5 separate regions of the Homo sapiens genome follow, and regions 1, 3, 4 and 5 are each linked to region 2. The links are contacts of gene promoters, found by promoter capture Hi-C in blood cells and fetal thymus (Javierre and others, 2016). All regions are on one chromosome and are shown on one strand. Each heading gives the region's core, a stretch centred on a gene start or on the middle of the fragment in contact. The rest is flanking DNA. Distances are from core to core; before and after follow the strand shown. Region 1 overlaps SEZ6L (seizure related 6 homolog like). Region 2 holds the start of CRYBB3 (crystallin beta B3). Region 3 overlaps SEZ6L (seizure related 6 homolog like). Region 4 overlaps SEZ6L (seizure related 6 homolog like). Region 5 overlaps SEZ6L (seizure related 6 homolog like).

What was found. The method cuts DNA at HindIII sites, captures the fragments that hold promoters and counts their contacts. A CHiCAGO score of 5 or more calls a contact.
Region 1: a contact is called between a fragment that was not itself captured here and the fragment with the promoter of CRYBB3 in region 2, in 2 of 17 cell types (M2 macrophages and M1 macrophages). The highest score is 8.2, in M2 macrophages.
Region 3: a fragment that was not itself captured here is called in contact with the fragment with the promoter of CRYBB3 in region 2 in 3 of 17 cell types (M0 macrophages, M2 macrophages and M1 macrophages); the score reaches 7.7 in M0 macrophages.
Region 4: a fragment that was not itself captured here is called in contact with the fragment with the promoter of CRYBB3 in region 2 in 1 of 17 cell types (M1 macrophages); the score reaches 5.8 in M1 macrophages.
Region 5: a fragment that was not itself captured here is called in contact with the fragment with the promoter of CRYBB3 in region 2 in 2 of 17 cell types (M0 macrophages and M2 macrophages); the score reaches 6.6 in M0 macrophages.

The regions. Positions count from the first base shown.
Region 1 is chr22:26,338,832-26,341,531 of GRCh38, forward strand. It overlaps SEZ6L (seizure related 6 homolog like), which reads left to right. Exons shown (of 17, transcript NM_021115.5): 10 at 1,605-1,801. Among named protein-coding and RNA genes, the nearest start is that of ASPHD2, 89 kb to the right of the region's middle. The HindIII fragment of the contact is 3,843 bases long and covers 1-2,700 here.
Region 2 is chr22:25,198,579-25,201,278 of GRCh38, forward strand. CRYBB3 (crystallin beta B3) reads left to right here and starts at 1,280. Exons shown (of 6, transcript NM_004076.5): 1 at 1,280-1,331. The HindIII fragment of the contact is 15,596 bases long and covers 1-2,700 here.
Region 3 is chr22:26,301,633-26,304,332 of GRCh38, forward strand. All of the region lies in intron 5 of SEZ6L (seizure related 6 homolog like), which reads left to right. Among named protein-coding and RNA genes, the nearest start is that of SEZ6L-AS1, 56 kb to the left of the region's middle. The HindIII fragment of the contact is 629 bases long and covers 1,115-1,743 here.
Region 4 is chr22:26,234,008-26,236,707 of GRCh38, forward strand. The region is part of intron 1 of SEZ6L (seizure related 6 homolog like); the gene reads left to right. Among named protein-coding and RNA genes, the nearest start is that of SEZ6L-AS1, 11 kb to the right of the region's middle. The HindIII fragment of the contact is 3,611 bases long and covers 1-2,700 here.
Region 5 is chr22:26,321,976-26,324,675 of GRCh38, forward strand. All of the region lies in intron 9 of SEZ6L (seizure related 6 homolog like), which reads left to right. Among named protein-coding and RNA genes, the nearest start is that of SEZ6L-AS1, 77 kb to the left of the region's middle. The HindIII fragment of the contact is 3,742 bases long and covers 1-2,700 here.

The DNA of each region.
Region 1 (2,700 bases), core at 71-2,570, 1.1 Mb after region 2:
AGGCGTGAGCCACCACGCCCGGACTTTTTTTTTTTCTTTTTTTTTTTTTTTTTGTAGAGACAGGGTCTCTCTTTGTTGCCCAGAATGGTCTTGAACTCCTGGCCTCAAGCAATCCTCCCACCTCAGCCTCCAAAAGTGCTGGGATTACAGGTGTAAGCCACTGCACCTGGACTCCCTACTCTGTGTTTATCTGCCTCGAGGTCTCCTACTCTTTCTTGAGGTTTCAGAGCAAGAAGCATCACCTACTGCAGGAATGCTTCCATGATGCCCCTAATCTGAGTTTGTCCTTACTTTCTCTGTCCTTACTTTGGTTATAACTCCTGCCACAATCCCTGGCTTACAAATCTAAATAGATCACTACTCTGTGACCCTTCTGAGCTCAGCACAGTGCCTGGCTCATAGTAGATGCTCAAAAAAACAAACAAAAAAGAACATTAAGGAGAAGGAGACAAGAAAAGGAGAAAGACATGAGAGAGAAAGAAGACAGAGAGAGGGAAAGAAGAAAGGAAAGAAAGAAATGTGAGTTTGTATCTGTCCATGATTGATGAAGCCAAAGGTGAATTATCTGGCATTCTTTCAATTAGAGATCAATTTTATCTAGCATGTCTGAGATGGCACATGTTTCTGTGGTATAGTGAAGTGATTTCTGGATTATTAACTATCCACTGTGGTTTAATTATTTAGTGTCAAGGTACTTTCTTGCATTGGAGTCTTTGAAAATGTGTCATCCTTTAACAGTATGAATGGTGACAGGTTTGAGCATATCTCATAAGTAAGGTGCCTCCATCCCACCTCTGCCCTACCCCTTAAACATAATGGATCATTCAGTTGACTCTGAGGAATTTGCCCCGTGATAAATGGAAAGATCATTTCACCTTATATAAAAATGCAAGTTGTAATTAGCAAGCTGTCAGCATGTTCTGCACTGAAGAAGAATGAAAGATGCAGGTCATAGCCCCAGCCTGTAGCCTGGTGCCTAACACAGAGATGTCACCTAAGAAATGGTTGCCAATAATGGGAGTTTTGAAGGTGATTCTTCTTACAATGCAGCATTTGACTTTGCAATGAGTCCCATGCAGCCAAGACCATTGCATCAATGTGTCTTCAAAAACCCAACTGACGGCCGGGCACAGTGACTCACGCCTGTAATCCTAGCACATTGGGAGGCCGAGGTGGGCAGATTGCCTGAGCTCAGGATTTGGAGACCAGCCTGGGCAACACGGTGAAACCCCATCTCTACTAAATACAAAAAAAATTAGCCAGACATAGCAGCATGCACCTGTAGTCCCAGCTACTCGGGAGGCTGAGACAGGAGAATTGCTTGAACCTGGAAGGCAGAGATTGCAGCGAGCTGAGAGTGCCACTGCACTCTAGCCTGGGTGACAGAGTGAGACTCTGTCTCAAAAAAAAAATGACTTACAAATCTTTGTGTCACATTTGCAGTCTATGTCAATCTTACCCTCAGCTTGGGGTTAAGACACATAGCCTGGAGCCTGACACATACACACTTAACAAATTTTGTATTGCCTGAAAAAGTTAATCAAGGGTTTATTGAATGCCCATTCTCTATTTCACATGACTCTCCCTCTTCTCTGCCCTCCAAGCCTGAATCTGAGCAACAGTGACATCTTGACCATCTACGATGGCGACGAGGTCATGCCCCACATCTTGGGGCAGTACCTTGGGAACAGTGGCCCCCAGAAACTGTACTCCTCCACGCCAGACTTAACCATCCAGTTCCATTCGGACCCTGCTGGCCTCATCTTTGGAAAGGGCCAGGGATTTATCATGAACTACATAGGTAGGTGTCTCATCTGGTCAATTTATTTTTTCTTTGTGTTTAGATACAGGTTAAGGTGGTTTCCTCTAGGTTATTTGGCAGTTTTGTACTACAGCGATTTTTCATTGTATTGTATTGAAATGTACTCATTTCATTTTTAAAAGCCTGGGCTCTCTAGTCATGAGGACCAGGGTTTGAGCCCTAGCACGGTCATCGATGTCTGTGTGGCTTTGGGAAAGTTACTGAACCTCTCTGAGCCTTCTTTTTGTCATCTGTAAGATGGGCATAGTGATACCTATTCCACAAGGTTGATATCAGGATGTAGTAGACAATGCCTCATAACTTATGTTTCATGTGTGGTCAGCTGAGAACCTGTTGTCCCCATGTTTCATTTGTGGTCAGCTGAGATCTTACATCAACATACTTCCTAATTTCTTCCCAATTTGTGCAACTTCTCAAACATCGTCTTCACCTTCTTGCCCGAACTGAAGCTCAGCTCTCCTCTAAGGCCTCTTCTTTTCCTGTAGCCTCGTTGAACAAGGACAGCCTTCCTTTCGCACTTCTTGTACTTTAGGAGCTATAGATGCAAAAGATGTCTTTCCTCATCCTCAATGTGGCCTCCAAACCATGTCTCTCCTGCTCCTCCTAAAACAAACAAAACAAAAAAAAAACCTGCTATCAAATTCAAGCTAAGCTCACACACTCCTATGACCCCTCGTGTGCTTTCATCCAATCACACTCTTCCCTTCTCATTCCCCACCCTGTAACTCTCCCTCATTCATTACTAGCTCTACGACCCACCCCTTTTCAACCTTTAAACCCTGGAGGGTCCCAGGCTCCATCCTGGACTGTATCCTCTCTTCCAGCTAGACTCACGCCCTCCATGCCTTCATTAGTTCCCATGGATTTAAACAGTACCA
Region 2 (2,700 bases), core at 30-2,529:
ACAGGCACCCGCCACCACACCTGGCTAATTTTTTGTGTTTTTAGTAGAGACAGGGTTTCACCGTGTTAGCCAGGATGGTCTCGAGCTCCTGACTTCGTGATCCGCCTGCCTCGGCCTCCCAGAGTGTTGGGATTACAGGCGTGAGCCACCGCGCCCGGCCTGTAACTGGGTTTTATGCTGACTTGAGGATTTTAGCCAAAAACAAATACCAACAACAACAAAAGAAAACCTTGTTAACTCACTCCTTTGCTCCAATATAATTTTATTCATAAAATAATCACTTATTAGATATTGATTACAGGCAAAATTATACTTTGTTAGACACTTAAAAAATTCCTGGAAGCTGGGTGCAGTGGCACGTGCCTGTAGTTCCGGTTATTCAGGACACTGAGGAGAAAGGATTGCTTGAGCCCAGGAGTTTGAGTCCAGCCTGGGCAATGTAGCAACAACCTATCTCTAAAAAATAAAATAAAAATACCTGGATCTACCTTTTTTCTTTGGTCATAAATAAGTTGACTGTGATGGTCACTTTTATTTCTATTGAGGCTAAGATCCCAGGTCCTGGAGCAGGCCAGCCCCTTCTCTCTGCTGTGTGATTCTGAGTAAATGGGTTCACCTCTCTGAACTCAGTTTCTCCATGTATAAAGTGGAATCAGAATTCCTCCCCTAAGGATGGCTGGATGAGAATTCCATACAATGCTTGTGAAGCTGGCACAATGCCTTGCGTGTAGTAGGTGTTCAAGAAATGGTAGCTATTATTCGTGCGTGTCTTCTACATGAAGAAAGTCAGTCTGTGAGTTCTGTGACGGCATCCTATGGAAACGGTTGGGTGGATTTGCGCCCAAGTTGGAGAGTATGGTTAGCGTGATCTGACTTAAAACTTAGGCCACATGGCACATGGAAACTGGAGAGTGTCTGGGGTCCCTCACTTTAAGAACTAGAATTTTTCCAAAGGTTGCGTGTGACTCAATAGGAAATGGTGACCCCAAGAAACCAAAGAAAGGGAGTTGGTGGTTGTGGGGAGACACGGGAGAGCTGCACACCGTGCCCCTTGCCTGGCGCTGCTGGGCTTCCCACAAAGCCAGTGAGGTTCATCTGTCCCCAGGAAGTCATCAGAGACGGTGGCTGAGGAGACAGGCACTGGGGGCCTCCGTGGACCCGCTATTGGAGTGAAGTGGCCTGGATGGAATTGGGTGGACAGGGTGCTGCCTCAGCAGGCTGGGATGTGCTGGGCTGTCAGAAAGTGCTCATAAATAGCATGCCCCTTGCGAAGACAGGCGAGTCTGCAGACGGCCGTGGCTCCTCTGTTCTTCCCGAGGCTACAGCAACAGGTTCATTCTGGGATGGGTTGGGGGTGGGGAGGCAAAAGCCACCCTGGCAGGCCCGGACCTTTTGTAGTTTCTGTGGGACGCGCATGGCTGACCGCCTGCAAAGAAAAACAGCGCCTCCCTTAAGGGTCAGGTCCCAGTGAGAGGACCCTGACAGCCCAGCTGGGGGTGGAACGAGGGACCCTTGTCTGCAGTGGCCAGGGTCCAAGCCCCTGGACATGTGCTTAGGGCAGGGGACCTTCCAAAACAGCTCCTCTGAGGGAGGGGAGTGGGCACACATGGTACCTGCCAAGTCCCCCGAGAGTCCCCTGTGAGCTGGACCAAGCCCTGTTTCCTGCTGAGGCTAGGAGAGACAGAACCGACAGCCCGCAGGCTGTGCATGGTTAGGCCCACATCCAGAGTATGTGGGCTGTGCAGCTGTGCATGCTGGGGTGGCCGTGCTGGGAGCCGTGGGTGGGTAACAGTTGGATGTGGGGTGTAGATGTAGGTGCCTTGTTTACCACTGTGGATGTCTGAAATGGGCAGGGATGTGTGTGTGTGAGGAGAGAGAGAGAGAGAGAGAAAGAAGCTGTCCTGTGAGCCCATGGGTGAAATATAACTGATAGTGACCATAGAAACTTTTGCGAGTGTGTGCACCTATGTGTGTGTGCTGACAAACAGAACAGTCCTGTGTGTGTCCATGGGTGCAACAATGATGAGAATCCTTCCATGTGACTGCGGCAGGGGCCTGTATTGCGTGTCACTGTCCCTGTAGCAATGAAGAACTGTCGGTGTCTGGGTCTTGAAGTGGCTGGTACACAGTCGTGTTCAATAAATGCTTAAGGAATGAGTAACCGAACGCAGGGAAACTGACCTGGAGCAGGTGTCCAACGACCTGGTCTTACAAGCCTTTTCTCTAGAGGTCTGTCTGTCCACCTCCCGACATATGGGGTCTCCTGTCCCTCCTGGTCACCCAGCCCAGAGCCTGGCACTGTGTAGGTGCTCATGGAATATTTGTTGAATAAAGTAACCAGTGAACAAAAGAGTTCCTGGAGTACGGAGGTGGGAGAGACCCCTGTAGAGGAAACTCCCTGAAGCCCACCCTTTAGCCAGGTTCTGGGGGTGGGACATCTGCAGAGAGCTCTGAGAAACCTGGGTTTCGGGGAGCATCTGGATCAGGGGAAAAGGGCACGGGCTTTGGAGCCAGGCCCGACCCAGGCCACTTCCTCACTGTGTGCTTGAGGAAGTGGCCTCACTTTGCTGAGCCTCAGAGTTCCCCTCTGTACAATGGGGCTCCTGATCCCACTGTCTCAGTCCACGTGGCCCATGGCAGGTGCTCAATGGATGTTTGCTGAATGACTGAATGTCGATCATAAGTTACAGCCACGCCCCA
Region 3 (2,700 bases), core at 179-2,678, 1.1 Mb after region 2:
TGGGAGGAGGACAGTGATGAGCGAAGGGTCAGGGAAGGATTACCTGATAACACTCCAAGATTTGGAAGTTGAGTAGGAAATAGACTGAGGGTGGAAAATGGGGGGGAGAAGGGGGAAACATTCCAGGCAGATGCACTAGCACATGCTAAGGTTCAGAGGTCAGAAGGAACTCGATGAGTTTGAGAAAGCAAATAAATAAATAAGATCAATCTGACTAAACTGCAGAGAAAATATCAGGACAGGAGGCTGGGGCAGTGGTCAGAAACTGTATTGCTCAAGGTCATGAGAAGACAGGTGGACTAGGTAGGAGATATCTGGAAAAATTTAAGCATAAGGGTGATCATTCTGACTTCTATTTGGCAAAAATGATTGAGGATGGTCAGAGTGGATCCATGGAAATCAAGGTGGACAATATCTACTATTTCACTTGAACTCAGGGAGATAAGATTACCACTTTCATAGGCAAAGAGAATGAGGCTTAGAGAGATGAAGTAACATACTTGAAGTGGCGAACTTAGTCCAGATCCCTTCTCTCCTGAGCTCCTCCCCTTACAGCTTCCTTACTCAAAGTGTGGTCCTCGGACTAGCAAAATTATTAGAAATGCATAATCCTGAGCCCCATGCAAAACCAAATGAATCAAAATTTTCACTTTAACATGGCCCTTGGGTGACTCATATGCACATTACACCTGGAGAAGCACTGGTTTGTAACGCACTGTCCCTGCACCAGTGGGCACAGCCTTGGCCATCTTCAGCTATCAAGAGAGCAAAACCCTTTTAGAATTCTCAAAAGTCCTGATGGTGGTTGAGAGAGTATAGGTTGCCCTGCCACCTACTATGTGCCAGGCTATGAGCCATGTGTGAAGAGAATATTGGAACTAATGAGACATAATTCCTGCCCTCCAGTTATTCATAGCCAAGTGGAGCTCAAAAAGGAAATGAGAGCTAATGATAAATTCTGAGATTCAATTGTTACAGTATTGTTCCCCCAAGGCCCTTCAGAATTTTTCTTTCTTTTTTTTAAACAAAGATAAAATTCCAAACCATAGGGCAGTTGGTCTTCACGCCTCTCTCACATTAATTTTTATCTATGTGTGAAATCAGGGAGGAATTAAGCTTCCATTTGTGCTAAGAAAGATGGATGGGGAGCCACGGCTGGCAAATTGAAGCCAAACAGAGCCATCAGTTGGCTTAATCAGGCAAAGAAGGGAAGCAGAGAAGCCGCAAACGATCAGCAGCTTGGGAGGACAGATGGCCAGAGCCCCCCACCAGGGACAGTGTCCTCCATTTCTCAGCTCCTGAGCCACAGGGCAATAGAGCTGGCTATGTTTTGAGTGCCCACTCTGTGCCAGGGATGGCATGAAGCTCCCCATGCCCATCGTTTCATTGATTTCTCACTACTGTCCTATAAGGAGGGTGGACTTATCACCATTTTACAGTGGGTAAACATGTGACTTGTCTTAGATCCACAGCAGATGACTGGCAAGGTTTCAACCTAGGGCTGGCTTATTTCACAGAACAATCTCTCCTCTAGGACAGAAGGGCAGCCTGGAGAGAGAAATGAACCTAGCTTTCTGTCTGTGGTCCTGAAAGAAGTATGGAGCTTCTTGGCAATGTCTTTGCTGTAGGTCACAACACAGTCTGGAGCAGAGATAAGAGTTATCCACCGTTCTCTGCTACTGCAAGCCCCATTCAGTCATACTGTCATTCAACAAACATTTAATGGGTACCTGCTATGTATCAAGCTTTGAGCTGATATTAGAGATACAAAAAGGAAAAAATATTTATTCTTTCATTCAACAAACATTTTATAAAGCAACTACTATATGCCATATACCTTTCTGGATTAGCAGGTTATCATAAATAAGACAGACAGTGGAGTAGTGACTTCGATAAGAGATACTGGAGTGAGGCAGCCTGAGCTTGAGTCTCAACTGCTCCACTTATTATGTGTATGTCCTTGAGGAAGTGGCGTAATACCTTTGAACTTCTTTTTTCCTCTTTTGCAAAATTAATCGTGGTTATTCAGTAAATATTTACTGAGCACATTCTACATACCAGGAGCTCTTCTGGTTGCTGGTAGTGTGACTGAAAGCAAACAAACAAAAAGTAGTCCTAGCTTTTGTGGAACCTACAAACCCCTTAGCCATCTGTGAGATGGTTCCAAATAACCTGTCCCACTTTTGCTTCCTCTCCTATATCTCTGAAAATGAAGGGGGAACCAAGCGTCCTGTGCTTGGGAAGGAAATATTTTTCAAGCTCCTTTGATCCTCATAAAAGATAGAAATGGCTCCCAAGACTTGAAACCCTGGTCATGGTGTAGGGCTTTACTCAATCGTGGCCCTGGGCTATTCTTCACATCCCTTCCTCCTGGACTGACTGCCACGCTCTGTGAGAAGCATCTGCTACCCACCATCTCTCCTCAGAAAATTCAAAACTGGCTGAGTGCTGTGGCTGATGCCTCTAATCCTTACATTTTGGGAGGCCAAGGCAGGTGGATCACGAGGTCAGGAGTTCGAGACCAGCCTGGCCAAGATGGTGAAACCCCATCTCTACTAAAAATACAAAAATTAGCTGGGCGCGGTGGTGGGCACCTGTAATCCCAGCTACTCAGGAGGCTGAGGCAGGAGAATCACTTGAACCTGGGAGGCAGAGGTTGCAGTGAGCTGAGATCGTGCCATTGCACTCTAGCCTGGGTGA
Region 4 (2,700 bases), core at 154-2,653, 1.0 Mb after region 2:
AAGCCAGGAGTAGTCAGTTCACATGGGGTTCTGATGCCAATGTAGGAGTTTGATTGTATTCTTAGTGCAATTGGAAGCCATGGCATGGGGGACGTGAATCAGCCACTTGACACTTTAGAGGACTTCCTGACCACCTTGTGGAAACTGGGGTGTCAGGATCCAAGAGAGGGGGCAGGGGAGTCATTCTGAAACATCACGTTAGCTCCTTGCTGCATCTTGGGAAGTTCCCAGGAAAGACAGATTGGCCCGAATTGGAACCCAGGTTTGTGTGATCCCAAAGCCCACGCTCTCTTGGCTCCAGCTAGGCTGGACCTTGGGGGAAGGAAATAATGGGGCCAGCAGAGAGAGGGGAACTTAAGCCAAAGAAATGTTCCATCTGAAAGCCAGTGCATTCCCTCCCTAGCAGCTGCGAGTAAAAAATAGAGTGGGTCGGAATTAGCAGACCTTTTTTTTCCTTTCTAATTTATAGCTCATTGGTTGACGTGCTCCTTGGGAGAACGAACGTCTTGCTCTCTGGCTTGGCAGCAAAGTCAATGACAAAGTACTGACAGCCCAGAACAGCATTCTTCCTCTGTATGAGGTCATGAATAAGGCTGGGGGCTCATCTCTATGCCTGGGCATCTCAGCAGAAGGTGGGGAAACCCAACTGCTGGCTTGATAGCCACAATAGGCCTATTTCTGAAGCTCATTTTCCCAAACATTTAGTAAACTATATACTGTGCTCTAGGCACCAGAGAAATAAAGGCAAATAGAGCACAGCCCCTGTCCTCAGTCTAGAAGGGACACAGCCACATATACAAATAATTACAGGAAAGTGTGATGAAAACTGCAGTAGCAGAGAGAAATGACCTCGGGTATCAGGGAAGGCTACCTGGAAGAGGTGATATTTAAGCTAAGTCTTGACAGATTAGTAGGAGTTCAACAGGGTAGAGATACCCCCAACGGCTGATACTGGGAGGAATTCAATAAATGTTAGTGTCTTATTCTGTTTCCTAGTGCTTTCTCGGATGTTGCTTTTGTGTGTCTCACCATATTGCGTGTTCACTGGGAATGGGAAATATGCCTTTGCCTTCTCTTCCATCCCCTACAGTAGTGAAAACAGGACCTAGTCATAGAGCTAAGTCTCTCAAATTTGGCACTATTGGCATTTGGGGTTGGATATTCCCTGGTTTGGGACAGGAGGGTGGAGAAGGGGAAGCCCATTGTATGATGTTTAATAGCATCCCTGGCCTCTTCTCAATGGATGCCAGTAGCACCTCCTCCATATCCCCAAGCAAACATGTCCCTCTGGGAACAAAATCACTCTTGGTTGAGAACCACTGTCATAGAGTATCCATGTATTTATTCATCTACTTAATTTTCATTAATGAATTCAACAAACATTTACTCAATATTCACCATGGGCCAGACACATTGCTAGGTACTAGGAACACAGTGTTATATAAGATACAGCCACTGCTGCTGCCCTCAGAGTTGCCTGGCTGGAGGGGCAAAGAGACAAGGCTATGATGGGGAAGCACCGAGGCTGTGGGAGCATGTAGGGTGAGGGCATTTGAGATATGGACACATTCCAGGAAGGGTCCCTGGATGAGGTGATAAATAGACATTAGCCAGGTGAAAGAGAGGGAAGGCATTCTAGGCCAAGGAAGAAAGAGAAGGCATTCTAAGCCAAGAAAATGACAAGCAAAAGGCTTAGGGGCTTGAATTAACTTGCCCTTTTGGGGAAGTATAGCAGCTCATACCTGGAGCATGGATCTCCAAGGAGGACAGAGGGGTAGAATAGAGGACTCTCCAGTCATTGAGAAGAGTCTGCTTCATCCGGAGGGCCATGGGGAAGCCATCGGAGAATTCCAAGCGGAAAAAGAAGGAATATGATCAGATCAAGTAAGAAAAACTCTGGCTGCAAAGTGACAGAGAAGTTTCATGAAGCTGCATGAGTCACTGGGCTTGCGGCCTTGGAAGATGCTCTCATAACATCAGAGGCACCTCCTGGCCTTGGCCTGGCCTTGGCCCTGCACTTCAGGTTGGATCTTGCCCCCCTGTCTCGGGCAACTTGAAATCTGCATCTCAGGCTGCTGTGCCCACAAAAGCCTCCTTCCCGTCCACCAGTTTCCCAGCCATGACTGTCCCTCCAGGTGGATGCAGGAAAGTGTTTTATCTACCCATGCCATTAAACCTGCCACTGAGCCCAAATTGCCTTTGGAGTTTGAGGGCAGATGGCAGTGCAACGTGTGGCTCAGCTCTGGAGATTCGGCATGGCCAACCCATTAGTTCTCCTGGAGCTGAACAGAGGGGGACCGACCCTCTAATTGCTTGAGAACTTGGGTATTATTGAAACTCCCTCATGCCTGAATGATGTATGACTCTCACAGTGTGGCTCAGCCATTGCCAGCGGCTCTCCAAAACAGACCCTGTCTTATTTTTTATTCCATTTATTTATGCATTTGGTCGATCTCTCTGGGAAGGTAAGTTTTTAAAATACTGGGTATGGAAACAGGAGATAGTCAAACTTTCCGAGCCTGTGGACTTGATTGATTGAGGTTGTGACATTTATTTCCAAAGCATCCTTCAAAAAGTTGGTTATAGACTAAACCACCAGTTTCAAATCTGGGGTCCCCCTGACTCTAATAGTCTTTGAAAGGAGTGATGGGCAGGGAGAGGAGGGGGCTGAGAGAGAAACGAAGTGTTTTGAAAACTCTA
Region 5 (2,700 bases), core at 171-2,670, 1.1 Mb after region 2:
ACTATGTGCTAGGCAGGCCCTGAGCTGCATCGTTTAGGTCCGTGAGCAATAATAAATGTGAACATTATTATGCAGAGATAATAATTACATAAATGAGAGCTAATGTGGGTAGAGATAATTACAGAAGGGTAATTACCCAAATTAGAGATAATGTATGCCAAGCACATTGCATGGTATCTGGCACATAGTTGGTGCTTCATAAATGGAGACTACTATTATCAGGAATCCTCAGATAAGGCAGATATTATCATTACCACTTTATGGGTTGGGTATGACAGCACAGAGAGGTTACGTGGTTTCCTCAGGTCACACAGCTAGTAAAGACGGAGCACACACCGTAGCCTCCACTTCCACTGACTTGAACAGCTTTCGGGGCACCAGCTGTGTGTCTCGGCAATGTAGCAGCGACACGGGAAGGCTCCCAGGCCTGTAGGGACTCAAAGTTCAGGAAGGGACACATAGCCATAAACAGACAGCCTGGCAAAATGTAAGCAAAGTCCTGTGGCTTGGAGGGTGAGTTGAGGAGGTAGAGGGGAACTAGATTTATCTCCGTGAATTATGGAAATATCCCTGAGAAGGTGACATCCAGAAGGAATCTTGAAGAGTGCCAGTTGCCCGGAGTTAATGGGAGAAAAGTGTCGTGAGCAAAGGATTCAAGCAGTGATGACAGTGACCATTAGGCATGAAATGAATGCTCTGAATCACAGCATCAATTACAACCATCTGCCCCACATTGTTGGTGTTGGAGGAAAGAAGGAGGTTGCACCAACTTGGGATGAGTCAGGAGCCCTCAGGCTAAACCTTCTTCACACCCCAAATGCCTCCCTAACCCACCACGTATCCCTCCCAGCTCCATCAGAAATCTGCCTCTTCCTCTAAAAACACAACTGAACAGAAACTTTTAAACCCTAAGGGCCTTTTCATATTGCTCTCCTCTCACTCTCTCTCATTCATTCTCTCTCCACACCCCTTCCCCAACTCTCAAAATAAATTACGGAAAGGAGAATAAGGGAACTAACATTGGTGAAGGCATCGTAGAATAGAAGATCCGAGAGGGGCCCCAAGTGGGCAGGTAACTTAGCAAGTATCACACAGCAAGAGAGGACCAGAAAGACAACTTGCTTGTGGCCACAAGAGCTCAGCACGGGGGCCACAACCTTGAAGATGCCTTGCAGCCAAGGAGACATAAAAGCGCCTAGAGTCAAAAAGAGGTGCATGTAAGTGCATCCTGATGTTCACCAGCTCTGTGGCCTCAGGCAGATTATTGAAGGTGCTGGTGCCTGCACCCACAATGGGATATTTTGTTCACTTTATCCCCAGTGTCTGGCACAAAGAAAGTGCTTGATAAATATCTGTTGAATGAAAGAGACGGTAAGGCTGGGCACAGTGGCTCATGCGTGTAATCCCAGCACTTTTGGAAGCCAAGATGGGAGGATCGCTTGAGCCCAGGAGTTCAAGACCAGCCTGGGCAACAAAGCAAGACCCCGTCTCTACAAATAATTTAAAAATTAGCCAGGCATGGTGGCTTGCAGCTGTGGTCCCAGCTACTTGAGAGGCTGAGGTGGGAGAATCACCTGAGCTCAGGTGTTGAGACCAGCTTGGGCAACATAGTGAGACCCTGTTTCTAAAAAGAGAGAGACAGAGAAGGTGGGTGTGTAAATTAATTAAATAATGTAAAAATTAAAATAACAGATAACATAAGGTTTCTGACACAAGATAGGCAGATAACCATAGCTAACACTACTTTTACCCCTACTATATCCCAGACTTTATGCTAAATACTGGCACACATTATCTCATTGATGATGATGATGATGATGATGATAAAGACCAACAGCTGACATTCATTGAGTACTTACAATGTGCCAGTCTTTACATGCTTTTTTTACCTATAGTAACTCATTTCACTCTCCAATGCAATATCAGTACCCTATGCAATATCTACATCACGTCAGTGTGACTACTCCTTTGTACAGATGAAGAAACTGAGGCTGAGAGAGATGAAACTGCTTGCCCAAGGTCACACAATTAGGATGTGGCCAAGTCAGGACTTGAACCCAGGTCTCTAAGACCAAAGCCAGTTTTTAACCACACACACACACACACACACACACACACACACACACAAACACACACACACACACAAACGGTAGGGAAGTGCTCCACATGAGAGAAATTCCGAGCTCCATCTTACAGAAGAAGAAACTGAGGCTCAAAGTGTTTCCTGCTCCCCGTTTCCTGGACATCTACTGCGAACATACATCCATCTCTGCAGGGAAAAAGTCTCAATCAGGCTCCAGCGTGCCTTCCTTTGCTCCTCTGCAGAGTTCCCAACATTGCTCCCTGTTTATGAGCCCCAGCACAGTTCTCTAACCAGGAAATAAAAGGGCCTAATAACAAACCCAGGTAACCATATGATTGATAGCTGCAGAACAGTCCTCTTCAGCTGCTGCCAACCTGTTCTGTGCTAAGTTAATTCCAAGCCCTAAAAATTAAGTGCCTTGTCCAGAGGCACTTCAGTTCTTCAAACAGAGATATAGCTGCTTTGGACTGTAAGAATTCTACCTGAGAGCCAGGAAAGGAGGAGAGAGATTCAGGAGTTGAGGACAACGTTAGCCCTGGGAGAATAGATTTCCAGATATCAGCAAAAATCACAGGAGAAATGGCCACGACAAAAATAAAACTGGCTGAACTCAGATC